Linked DNA regions of Homo sapiens: region 1 is linked to region 2. Evidence: promoter capture Hi-C in 16 types of primary human blood cells and fetal thymus (Javierre and others, 2016). All regions are on one chromosome and are shown on one strand. Each heading gives the region's core, a stretch centred on a gene start or on the middle of the fragment in contact. The rest is flanking DNA. Distances are from core to core; before and after follow the strand shown. Region 1 overlaps SNX8 (sorting nexin 8). Region 2 holds the start of PSMG3 (proteasome assembly chaperone 3).

Region 1 (5,665 bases), core at 1,608-4,107, 740 kb before region 2:
GAGGCTACCATAATGGTGTAATTTAGAGATAGTCTGAGCGCTGTACACCTGAGGGAGCTGTGTCTCTGGGAGACCGCCCTCCCTTTGGTGTGGCCTGGAATTCCTGTAGGTAGTTGGCTTTTTCTGGGGGCAGTGGTGATTTCATCAGGAGTGCTGATGGGATCCACAGATGGGGGTTGCTGGGACAAGGCAGTGCTTCACAGTGCCCTTTCCTGTAACCAGGCAAGTCTGAAAGTGGGGCTCACAGACTCTTGGGACGTAGACTGTCCTTCTGTTTGAAACTTGGTCGTCATCCTGGCAGGTGGGTGAAGTGGTATAGCAGGTCTTTTTTTTTTTTTCTTGAGACGGAGTCTCGCTCTGTCGCCCAGGCTGGAGTGCAGTGGTGTGATCTCGGCTCACTGCAAGCTCTGCCTCCCGGGTTCATGCCATTCTCCTGCCTCAGCCTCCCGAGTAGCTGGGACTACAGGCGCCCGCCACCACGCCCGGCTAATTTTTTGTATTTTTAGTAGAGACGGGGTTTCACCATGTTAGCCAGGATGGTCTCGATCTCCTGACCTCGTGATCTAGCCGCCTCGGCCTCCCAAAGTGCTGGGATTACAGGCGTGAGCCACCGCGCCCGGCCTCGCAGGTCTTTTTACATTGAGAAAACTAAAATCCAGAGGTAAGTAATTTGCCCAAAGTGGGCAATGTCAAGGGAATGTGTGTTGATGGGGACCCTGATTGGGTGGGCTGGAGTGAGAAAACCTCAGCCTTGAGACCAAGCACTGTGGCTCACGTCTGAAATCACAGCACTTGGGGAGGCTGAGGAGGGAGGATCGCCCGAGCCCAGGCGCTAGAGACCAGCCTGGACAACGTAGCGAAATCCTGTCTCAAATTTTTAAAAAAGAAAACAAAAACAAAAACAGCAAAGAAAAAAGTTAAGTCTCTGAATATTGTCCGGAGACTATGTGTGTGACTTACACGTTCACTAAGGTTGGTTTGAAGGAGTGGTTGTGCCTTACGGGTATACAGTGAATTTCCTCTTCTCTAGAGTTTTGGCCACACAGCCAGAGCCCACTGGTGGTATTCATGTGGGAACTGTGAAATCTCCTGCATCTTCGGTGTTGCCAGAAAAAAATGTGCTTGTTGTACTTTTCCACATTAAGAGTCTCATTCTATTTGAATTCTTTGAAGCTTAAGCTGTGAATGCTCTCTAGGGCAACCCTCTTTATAAAAACTTAATTTTCAGTTATGCCATACATGGACAAATGTATTTTCTTTAAAAAAGAATAGAACATTGTAGATTAAGTGAAAGTCCCATCCTAATTGCCATCATCTCCTGTCTGTACCTGAGAGGTGACCATTGTTCTCAGTTTGGGATGGACCGTTTTAGTTCTGTTTTCACATTTTATTCATATATGTACTCAGGAAACATATACTTCCTTATATAAGTGTGCTCATGTTTCCCTAGCGTAGTATATTCTCTAGCTTTCTTTTGTTCCTTTTATTTTTATTTATTTATTTTTTTGAGACGTAGTTTCACTCTTTTGCCCAGGCTGGAGTGCAGTGGTGCGATCTTGGCTCACTGCAAGCTCCACCTCCTGGGTTGACGCCATTCTTCTTTCTGCCTCAGCCTCCTGAGTAGCTGGGACTACAGGTGCCTGCCACCACACCTGACTAATTTTTTGTATTTTTAGTAGAGATGGCATTTCACCGTGTTAGCCAGGTTGGTCTTGATCTCCTGACCTCATGATCTGCCTGCCTCGGCCTACCAAAGTGCTGAGATTACAGGGGTGAACCACTGCGCCCAGCCACGCCTGGCCAATTTTTAAAATTTTTTGTAGAGACAGTCTGGCTGTGTTGCCCAGGCTGGTGTGGAACTCCTGGCCTCAAGCAATCCTCCCACCCGGGCCTCCCAAAGTGCTGGGATTTCAGGCATGAGGCACCGAGCCTGGCTGGATTTTATATTGAAACTATTCCTGTCAAAATATCTGATTGACCGGAACATTCTGTCCTCTGACTATGCAGGATAAGGGTTTTTTTCAGGGCCTGTTCTTAGGTCATGAAGCTCAATGATTGTGACATCCAGCGAGAACGGCAGTGAGTGTGGTAAGTGTGCTTGGTCGTCCAGCCTGATTTCTCGGGATCGATTAATACATGGATAGAAATATGTACAGATGACCACGGCGTATCCTGGCTCTGCCGTATACAGTCCTGCGGCCCTACATTGACTCTTTAGAACGAGGGTGAGTCACGCTTCACTTGCGGCTCATCCCATGGCATTCCATACATTCCATTCGGTTCGGAAGCTCCGTGCTGTTTGTCCGCGTTGACCTGGCGATGACTCCTTGAGTGTCATTGAGGCAGGTCCAGGGCCTTTGCTGACCCTCGGGGCTCCTTCACCCCTGCCCCGAGCCTTCCCCTCTTGCCTGGGCGACTTCCATGCACCCTGGGCTCCCATCAACCCTTACCTGCAGCTGCTCGCTCATGTCAGGTCTGTTCTCTGTGTGAATACGTTGGTCAGAATTCATTGCGCTGTCACTTAAAGTTTATACTTTTTTTTTTTTGAGATGGAGTCTCGCTCTTGTTGTCCAGGCTGGAGTGCGATGGCGCGATCTCGGCTCACCGCAACCTCCTCCTCCCGGGTTCAAGCAATTCTCTTGCCTCAGCCTCCTGAGTAGCTGGGATTACAGGCATGCGTCACCACACCTGGCTAATTTTGTATTTTCAGTAGAGACGGGGTTTCTCCATGTTGGTCAGGCTGGTCTCGAACTCCCAACCTCAGGTGATCTGCCCACCTTGGCCTCCCAAAGCACTGGGATTACAGGCGTGAGCCACCGCGCCCGGCTGGTTCTGGTGATTCTTGTGCCTCAGCCTCCCCAGTAGCTGGGATTACAGGCGTGTGCCACCACACCTGGCTAATTTTTGTATTTTTAGTAGAGACGAAGTTTCGCCATGTTGGCCAGGAAGGATGATCTCAAACTCCTGACCTCATGTGATCCACTTGCTTTGGCCTCCCAAAGTGCTGGGATTACAGGGGTGATCCACCCCACTGGGCCTATTTATACATTTTGAGCAGGGTGTGGTGGCTCACACCTGTAATCCTAACACTTTGGGAGGTTAAGGCAGGAGGATCACTTCAGGCCAGGAGTTTGAGGCCAGCCTGGGCAATAGAGTGAGACCCCATCCCTATTTAAAAAAAAGATTTGTGTCTGGGCCTGGTGGTTCACGCCTGTAATCCCAGCACTTTGGGAGGCCGAGGTGGGCGGATCACCTGAGGTCAGGAATTCAAGACCAGCCTGGCCAACATGGTGAAACCCCGTCTGTACAAAAATCCAATAATTAGCTGGGCATAATGGCGAGTGCCTGTAATCCCAGCTACTCGGGAGGCTGAGGTGGGAGAATTGCGTTAACCTGGGAGGCAGAGGTTGTAGAGGTTGTAGTGAGCCGAGATGGTGCCGCGCTGCAGCCTGGTTGACAGAACAAGACTCCAGCTCAAAAAAAAAAAAAAAAAAAAATTTGTTCATTTTATGGTGATTAAATTATGCCCCACAGTATTGTTTGCATTAGGGACAAAACCTTCTGCCCCATTTCGCTCCCTTCCATGACCCTTTTTTTTTTTTTTTTTTTTTTGAGACAGAGTCTCACTCTGTTGCCCAGGCTGGAGTGCAGTGGTGCCATCTAGCCTCACTGCAACCTCCATCTCCTAGGTTCAAGTGACTCCTGCCTCAGTCTCCCCCGTAGTTGGGATTACAGGCGTGTGCCACCATGCCCAGCTAATTTTTGTATTTTTAGTAGAGTCGGGGTTTTACCATGTTGACCAGGCTGGTCTCGAACTCCTGACTTCAGGTGATCCGCCCGCTGCAGCCTCCCAAAGTGCTGGGATTACAGGTGTGAGCCACCGTGACTGGCCATGACACATATTTTGGTAGTAAACTCCTGATGAGCAAACTTATTTTTATTTTTTTTACAAGTTTATTTTGTTTATATAGTTTTGTTACTTTTTTCTTTTTTTAATTCTGGCTCTCTCCAGAAAACAGAAACCTATTTTTCTTTAACCACAGTATCTAGAATACTATCTGCTATGTAGCAGAGTCTCAAATATTTGAATAGAATTACATTTTTATAAATTTTTGTATTATATTTCTTATGTGATAAGACTTGACAACACTGCAAATATGTTTTGTTACTGGTCTTTAAACTTGCTCATCCTCTCTCTCTCTCTGTCTCTCTCTCACACACACACACACGCACACATACACAATTTGCAAGGTAAAACGTGTCAATTTGAAGAAAGAGGAACTAACTGAATCACTGTTATGTAGAACAGATTTTGCCAGAATTTGTGGTTAGCAAGAAAGTGATGTGTTCCGGGTAGGGGAATTCTGTTTTGGTATTATTTTGTCTTTCCTGAGAAAAGCATCACAAAAAGAGATGTTTGCCCATCCTGTTTGCTGGGGTAGTGGGAAGAGACCGGGGGTGATGGTGGTGCTGGCTGGACGTGGGTGGTTTCACAGGACCTGCTGTGTCTGAGAGGAGCCATGCGGTGATTAGAAGCTTGGAGGCTGCAGGTAGGAGGCACAGAGCCCGAGAGTGCATGGAGAGCCTGGCTGTCGGTCTCCAGCATTGTCACTGTCACCTTTTTTTTTTTTTTTTTTTTTTTTGGAGACAAAGTTTTTGCTCTTGTTGCCCAGGCTGGAGTGCAATGGTGCGATCTCGGCACACTGCACCCTCCGCCTCCCGGGTTCAAGCGAGTCTTCTGCCTCAGCCTCCCGAGTAGCTGGGATTACACGTGTCCACCACCGCACCTGGCTAATTTTTGTATTTTTAGTAGAGATGGGGTTTCACCATGTTGGCCAGGCTGGTCTCGAACTTGGAACCTCAGTGATCCCCCCGCCTTGGCTTCCCAAAGTGCTGGGATTACAGGCGTGAGCCACTGCACCTGGTCCATTGTCATCCTCTGAGAAACTGGAGCGCGGCCACGCTCTGCATATTTCTACTATAGAATCACCAAAAAAAAAAAAATCACATAACCAGACTTAAAGGGCAGAAGTGCTTTGTGAGAAGTGTTTTTGGGAAAATATTGGCATTAAAATATCAGGTAGGGTCCCTTTTGGGAGGACTGAGGAGGGGTGTGTGTTCAGCTCCGGGAGGATCTGGTCTGCCCTTCCTGCTGTTTTCTGTTGACTGGGTGGGAGGAGGCACTTTGCTGTTTCTGTTGTGTGTAGCAGGGGTTTAATGGGGGTCTTTTTAGCTCCCTATAAGCATTTTGAAGTTTGTGTGTTATGGAAATCTGAAGTGAAATTACACAAAGTTTGATTAACCCCAGGAAGTACTGTAGGGGCCGGAGAAACTCAGGTTAGGTAATATCTTTCAAGAAGCCCAGTTACGTTATTTTCCAGGAATCTTCCAAAACCTGATTTGTGCGGGTGTCCACCAGGAGCCTGATGAGTGAGTTGTCATCAGACCCAGTAATGCGCTGTTGTTGTGTGAATTGGTGCTTTCAGAAAATTTTGTTATACAAGTGATACAACCACAATCGCAAAAATTTCATAGACAAATCACCTGTAGTTCCACCCCTTTTAACAGCCGTTGCATTTTAATATATTTCCTTTTTTCCTGTGCATTGCTTTGTATGTAGTTATCATCATAGTGAATATGCGTCTTTATAGTTAGTTCCTTTCAC
Region 2 (5,305 bases), core at 1,913-4,412:
TGCTCACGTCTGTAATCCCAGCACTTTGGGAGGCCGAGGCGGGCAGATCACCTGAGGTCAGGAGATTGAGACCAGCCTGGCCAACATGGCGAAACCCAGTCTCTACTAAAAATACAAAAATTAGCCGGGCGTGGTGGCAGGTGCCTATAATCCTAGCTACTCATGAGGCTGAGGTAGGGGAATCGCTTAAACCTGGGAGGCGGAGGTTGCAGTGAGCCGAGATCGCACCACCGCATTCCGGCCTGGACGACAAGAGCGAGACTCCATCTCAAAAAACGACAACAACAACAAAAATCCATCTTGTTCTTCAACATCCCTTTTTTAAAGGTGATAAGTTTATTTCAGAGGGTTTTCTTTGAGAGGACAGGATCAGATTTCTTGTATCTATTTGCCTACAGAGAGGGAGAATACACAAACAGGTGAATAAAAGCGAGTGAACCTTTTGAAGATTTCAGATGGCAAAGCAATCCACTGGCAATTTGCTTGTGGGGTATGTGTGGGTGGATGTGTGTTTAAATTTAGAGCCGACAGAAACTTAGACTTTCCTGGGAAGTTGATATGCTTCCTGTTTTTTGAGTATTAGAACCATGAAACTCATCATCTCTCCTTTTGTGTACTGGCTGCAAGAATGCTCAAAAATGAATTTCCCCTTGATTTATGTCTATTTTGATCATTTTCTGTATGCATGCTTTTTATTTTAGGCCTCCAGAAATCATCATTGGAAGGAGCATGCTTCATTTGACTTGACTTGGATTGGATACGAAGTCATCAAATGGTGAGAAGAGGGAGTCAAGATCTTCCTTGGAGCTTCAGTGGTGTAAATGTCAGAGGTGTTTGAACCAGAGCAACTTCATCTTGAATAGGGGCTGGGTAAAATGAGGCTGAGATCTGCTGGGCTGCATTCCCAGACAGTTAAGGCATTCTATGTCACAGGATGAGATAAGAGGTCGGCACAAGCTACAGGTCATAAAGACCTTACTGATAAAACAGTTTGCAGTAAAGAAGCTGACCAAAACCCACCAAACCAACATGGCGATGAGTGTGACCTCTGGTCGTCCCAGCTGCTACACTCCCACCAGCGCCGTAAGTTTACAAATGCCATAGCAATGCCAGGACGTTACCCTAAAGGGTTTAAAAAGGTAAGGCACGAATAATCCACCCCTTGTTTAGCATATCATCAAGAAATAACCACAAAAATGGGCAACCAGCAGCCCATGCTGCTCTGCCTATGGAGTAGCCATTCTTTATTCTGTTACTGGTGGAGGGTGTCCAGGTTCTTGGCATCTTGAACAAAGAATTGGACAAAATGCACAAAGCCACCGGGCGCGGTGGCTCACACCTATAATCCCAGCACTTTGGGAGGCCGAGGCGGGCAGATCACCTGAGGTCAGGAGTTCAAGACCAGCCTGGCCAACATGGCGAAACCTCGTCTCTACTAAAAACACAAAAGTTAGCCGGGCATGGTGACGCACGTCTGTAATCTCAGCTACTCAGGAGGCTGAGGCAGGAGAATTGCTTGAACCCGGGAGGCAGAGGTTGCAGTGAGGATCACGCCACTGCACTCCAGCATGGACAACAGAGACTCTGTCTCAAAAAAAAAAAAATGCACAAAGCAAAAAAAGAATGAAGCAACAAAAGCAGAAATTTTTTGAAAATGAAAGTACATTCCATGGTGTGGGGGCGGCCAAAGCATAGAGGCTCAGGGCCCCATTACAGAACTTGTGAGGTTTAAATACCCTCTAGGGGTTTCTACTGGTTACTTGGTGTACGCCCTATGTAAATAAAGAGGATGAAATAAAGTTACAAAATCATTTACTCAGTGTACACCCTATGGAGAGGGTATTTCCTGTCATAGCTGAAGTGTTCCCTGCCTCCAGACCCTGTTTTCCTGCCTCAATTCCTTTACTTTTCTAATAAACTTGCTTTCACTTTGTGGACTCGCCCTCAATTCTCTCTTGGGGTCTGGATCGGGACCCCTTTCTGGTAATATAGACAGAAAATACGGCCTTGACATGGTTGTCAGGAAACGACAGTAAGGCCTCCGAGGGTGGGGTTCTGAAGGGATGTTAAACGCCCCACCCCGAGGAAGGCTCTGGAGGCTCCAATCACTTTCAGCCTCTGCTACCAAGATGTCCGACCCTACCAATAAAACTTCCAGCAGCGGGGCGCGGTGGCTCACGCCTGTAATCCCAGCACTTTGGGAGGCCGAGGAAGGCAGATCACCTGAGGTCAGGAGTTCAAGACCAGCCTGACCGACATGGTGAAACCCCATCTCTACTAAAAATTTAAAAAGTTAGCCGGGCCTGGTGGCGCACGCCTGTAATCCCAGCTACACAGGAGGCTGAGGCAGGAGAATTGCTTGAACCAGGGAGGCGGAGGCTGCAGTGAGCCGAGATCGCGCCACTGCACTCCAGCCTGGGTGACACAGCAAGACTCCGTCTCAAACAAAACAAAACAAAAAACCTTCCAGCTTGGAGAAACTGAGAGTGAGCAGTAGGGAGTGAGGGGGTCCCTGGGAGGAACCAGAACTCATCCCGCTTCAGGGTGGGGCTGGCCCCCTTCTTGGCCTTGGCCGGGGCTTCGTGTCACGGAGCGCCCGAGGGACGGTCGGAGCCCACCCCAGCCCGCCCGCCGCCTGAGCCTGGCCGAGCTCTCTGCACCTGCACACGTCTGTAAAACGCGGATGAAACGCTTCTACGGAACCGGGTGGCTGAGATGAAGTGAGTTATGGGTATAAAGCGCTTAGAGCGATGCCTGGCGGACACTCGGTGCCAAATAAGCGTTCGCTGTGGCGACGATGACGCCTCCAGCCCAAAGCCCGTGGTCGAGCAGGGCCGGGCTCCCAGCGCTAGGGGGTTCCTAGGCGCGGCGCTTCGGGGGTCCTGGACACAGACACGGGGGACAGAGCTCCTACCAGCGACGATCCCGAGGGTCTGCAGCAGAGGGGCTGAGGCCCGGGACGGGGGTGGTCGCAGCGCCCTTTCCTGAAAAAACGGGGTTCGGCTCTAAGGCGCCCCCAAGCCCTGCCGGCAGCGCGGAACCCGAGCCGCTCAGAAGCCCGGGAGCCCCAAGTCTCCGGGACCAGAAGCGCCGCGGCCCTGACTTCCGGAAGGTGGACGGAACCCGCGGACGGGGCGGGCCCGCGTGGCGCACGCAGAGCCACTTCCGGGCGCGGCGCCGGCTTGGTGAGCGCGGGTACCCGCGGGCTTCCCCGGGCGGCTGCGTCCCCAGTAGCCCGGCCGGCCTCGGCACCGCGTGTCGTGGGGGTCCCGGGCCGCGGCTGCAGGGCCGGGGCGGCGGCGAGGCCGAGGGGCGGGAAGCCACTGCCCGGCCTGGCAGTGTGAACGTGCAAGTCGATCCCCTAACCCAGAAAGCCCCAGGCGCGGTCTCTATGGGCGGCCCCGCTCCTGCTTCTGTTTTATTTTTTTACGGACAGGGTCTCGCTCTACCGCCCGGGTTGTAATGCAATGGTGTGATCACGGCTCACCGCAGCCTCGACCTCCCGGGCTGAAGCGATCTTCCCGCCTCAGCCTCCTGAGTAACTGGGACCACAGGCGCGCCCTGCTGGTTTTTTTTTTTTTTTTTTTTGGTAGAGATGGGGGTCTCGCTATGTTGGCCAGGCTGGTCTCGAATTCCTGGCCTCAACGATCGTCCTGTCTCGGCCTCCCAAAGTGCCGGGATGACAGGCATGAGCCACCGCGCCTGGCCCCTTCTTTTGAATGGGCCTCCTTGCGTTTCCGTTTCAATGCCCCGTGCTACTTTTTTGGGAGCCCCAAGGCTGTACTGTTTGATTGACTCCTTTTTTTCCCCTTTCTTTTTAACCTAAATTAAAGCTGCCACTGCAGAGCCCCGCCATGGAAGACACGCCGTTGGTGATATCGAAGCAGAAGACGGAGGTGGTGTGCGGGGTCCCCACCCAGGTGGTGTGTACGGCCTTCAGCAGTCACATCCTGGTGGTGGTGACCCAGTTTGGGAAGATGGGCACCCTGGTCTCCCTGGAGCCCAGCAGCGTGGCCAGTGACGTCAGCAAGCCTGTGCTCACCACAAAAGTCCTTCTGGGGCAGGATGAGGTAAAGTGGATTGGCCGGGAACTGTGGCTCACGCCTGTAACCCTAGCACTTTCAGAGGCCTAGGCGGGCAGATCGCTTGAGGCCAGGAGTTTGAAACCAGCCTGGGCAACACAACAACACACACACAAGTCACTACAAAAAAACAAGTGCCTACACAAAATATATATATAGAGAGAGGCTGGGTGCAGTGGCTCACACCTGTAATCCCAGCACTTTGGGAGGCTGAGGCGGGCAGATCACTTAAGGTCAGAAGTTCCAGACCAGCCTGGCCAACATGGGGAAACCCCATTTCTACGAAAAATATAAAAATTAGCTGGGTGTGGTGGCACATGCCTGTAATCTCAGCTACTCAGGAGGCTGAGGCAGAAGAATCGCTTGAACCCGAGAGGCGGAGGTTGCAGTGAGCTAAGATCGTGCCACAGCACTCCAGCCTGGGTAACAGATAGAGACTTGGTCTTAAAAAAAAAAGGAAAAGAAAAGGAAACAAAAAATTAGCTGGGCCTAGTGGTGTGTGCCTGTGCTCCCAGCTACTTGGGAGGCTGAGGTGGGAGGATGGCTTGAGCCCTGGAGGTTGAGGCTGCAGTGAGCCATGATTGTGCCACTGCGCTCCAGCCTGGGTGAGAGAGCAAGACTCTGTCTTTAATAATAATAATAATAATAATAATAATAAAGTGGTCAGGAAGGGACCCCCAGGGAGGAGCATAAACCTCTCCAGTGGCTGTGATTTGTCAGTAAGGACATGGGGCATCTGGCGGACAAATACCCCTACAGCGATAGCATTTTCCGGGCATTTGTGGGTCTCAAGGCGCCCTGCTTGCCCTCAGTGGATGCTTTGTCCAGCCCGCAGGCATTTTATCCAGCAGACAAGCAGAAGCAGCAGTTTTGTCATTCGAGCCGCCTCCCCTGCCATGGTACATTACGTGAGCAGGCGGCTGGCTGTGCTGTGCTCTGTGGAGATCACACGTGAGATTCGACAGCACTCGCTTCTGCAGGCTTCTCTTTCCTGGGTTCTTTTAGATGAGAGAGAGCCAGAAGAGGCGGGGCTGCGGAAGGCGCTGGGAAAATGAATGGAGTGATGGTCTTTAGCAGTGTGCCCGTGACTGGAGTGTTCTGAGTGCTGCCAGAACTCTGAGTCACAGTTGCATGGACTTATGTGGCGGTTAATGGTGGTGTGGGAAGCCTGCCTGGGTTCCTAAGGGATACTTCATGAAAGCATTGAGGAAAAAACCAGGTTT

What was found. The method cuts DNA at HindIII sites, captures the fragments that hold promoters and counts their contacts. A CHiCAGO score of 5 or more calls a contact.
Region 1: a contact is called between a fragment that was not itself captured here and the fragment with the promoter of PSMG3 in region 2, in 5 of 17 cell types (naive CD8 T cells, M0 macrophages, total CD4 T cells and 2 more). The highest score is 7.5, in naive CD8 T cells.

The regions. Positions count from the first base shown.
Region 1 is chr7:2,306,613-2,312,277 of GRCh38, reverse strand. All of the region lies in intron 1 of SNX8 (sorting nexin 8), which reads left to right. Among named protein-coding and RNA genes, the nearest start is that of SNX8, 5.0 kb to the left of the region's middle. RefSeq lists enhancers at 1-97, 118-187, 1,270-1,778, 1,779-2,289, 2,290-2,799 and 1 more. The HindIII fragment of the contact is 3,363 bases long and covers 1,176-4,538 here.
Region 2 is chr7:1,567,889-1,573,193 of GRCh38, reverse strand. It overlaps PSMG3 (proteasome assembly chaperone 3), which reads left to right and starts at 3,162. Exons shown (of 2, transcript NM_032302.4): 1 at 3,162-4,070. The coding sequence starts at 3,855. It overlaps PSMG3-AS1 (PSMG3 antisense RNA 1), which reads right to left and starts at 3,121. Exons shown (of 5, transcript NR_027329.1): 1 at 2,915-3,121. RefSeq lists enhancers at 2,111-2,160, 2,171-2,240, 2,864-3,432, 5,139-5,305 and silencers at 2,541-2,620, 3,061-3,490. The HindIII fragment of the contact is 7,479 bases long and covers 1-5,305 here.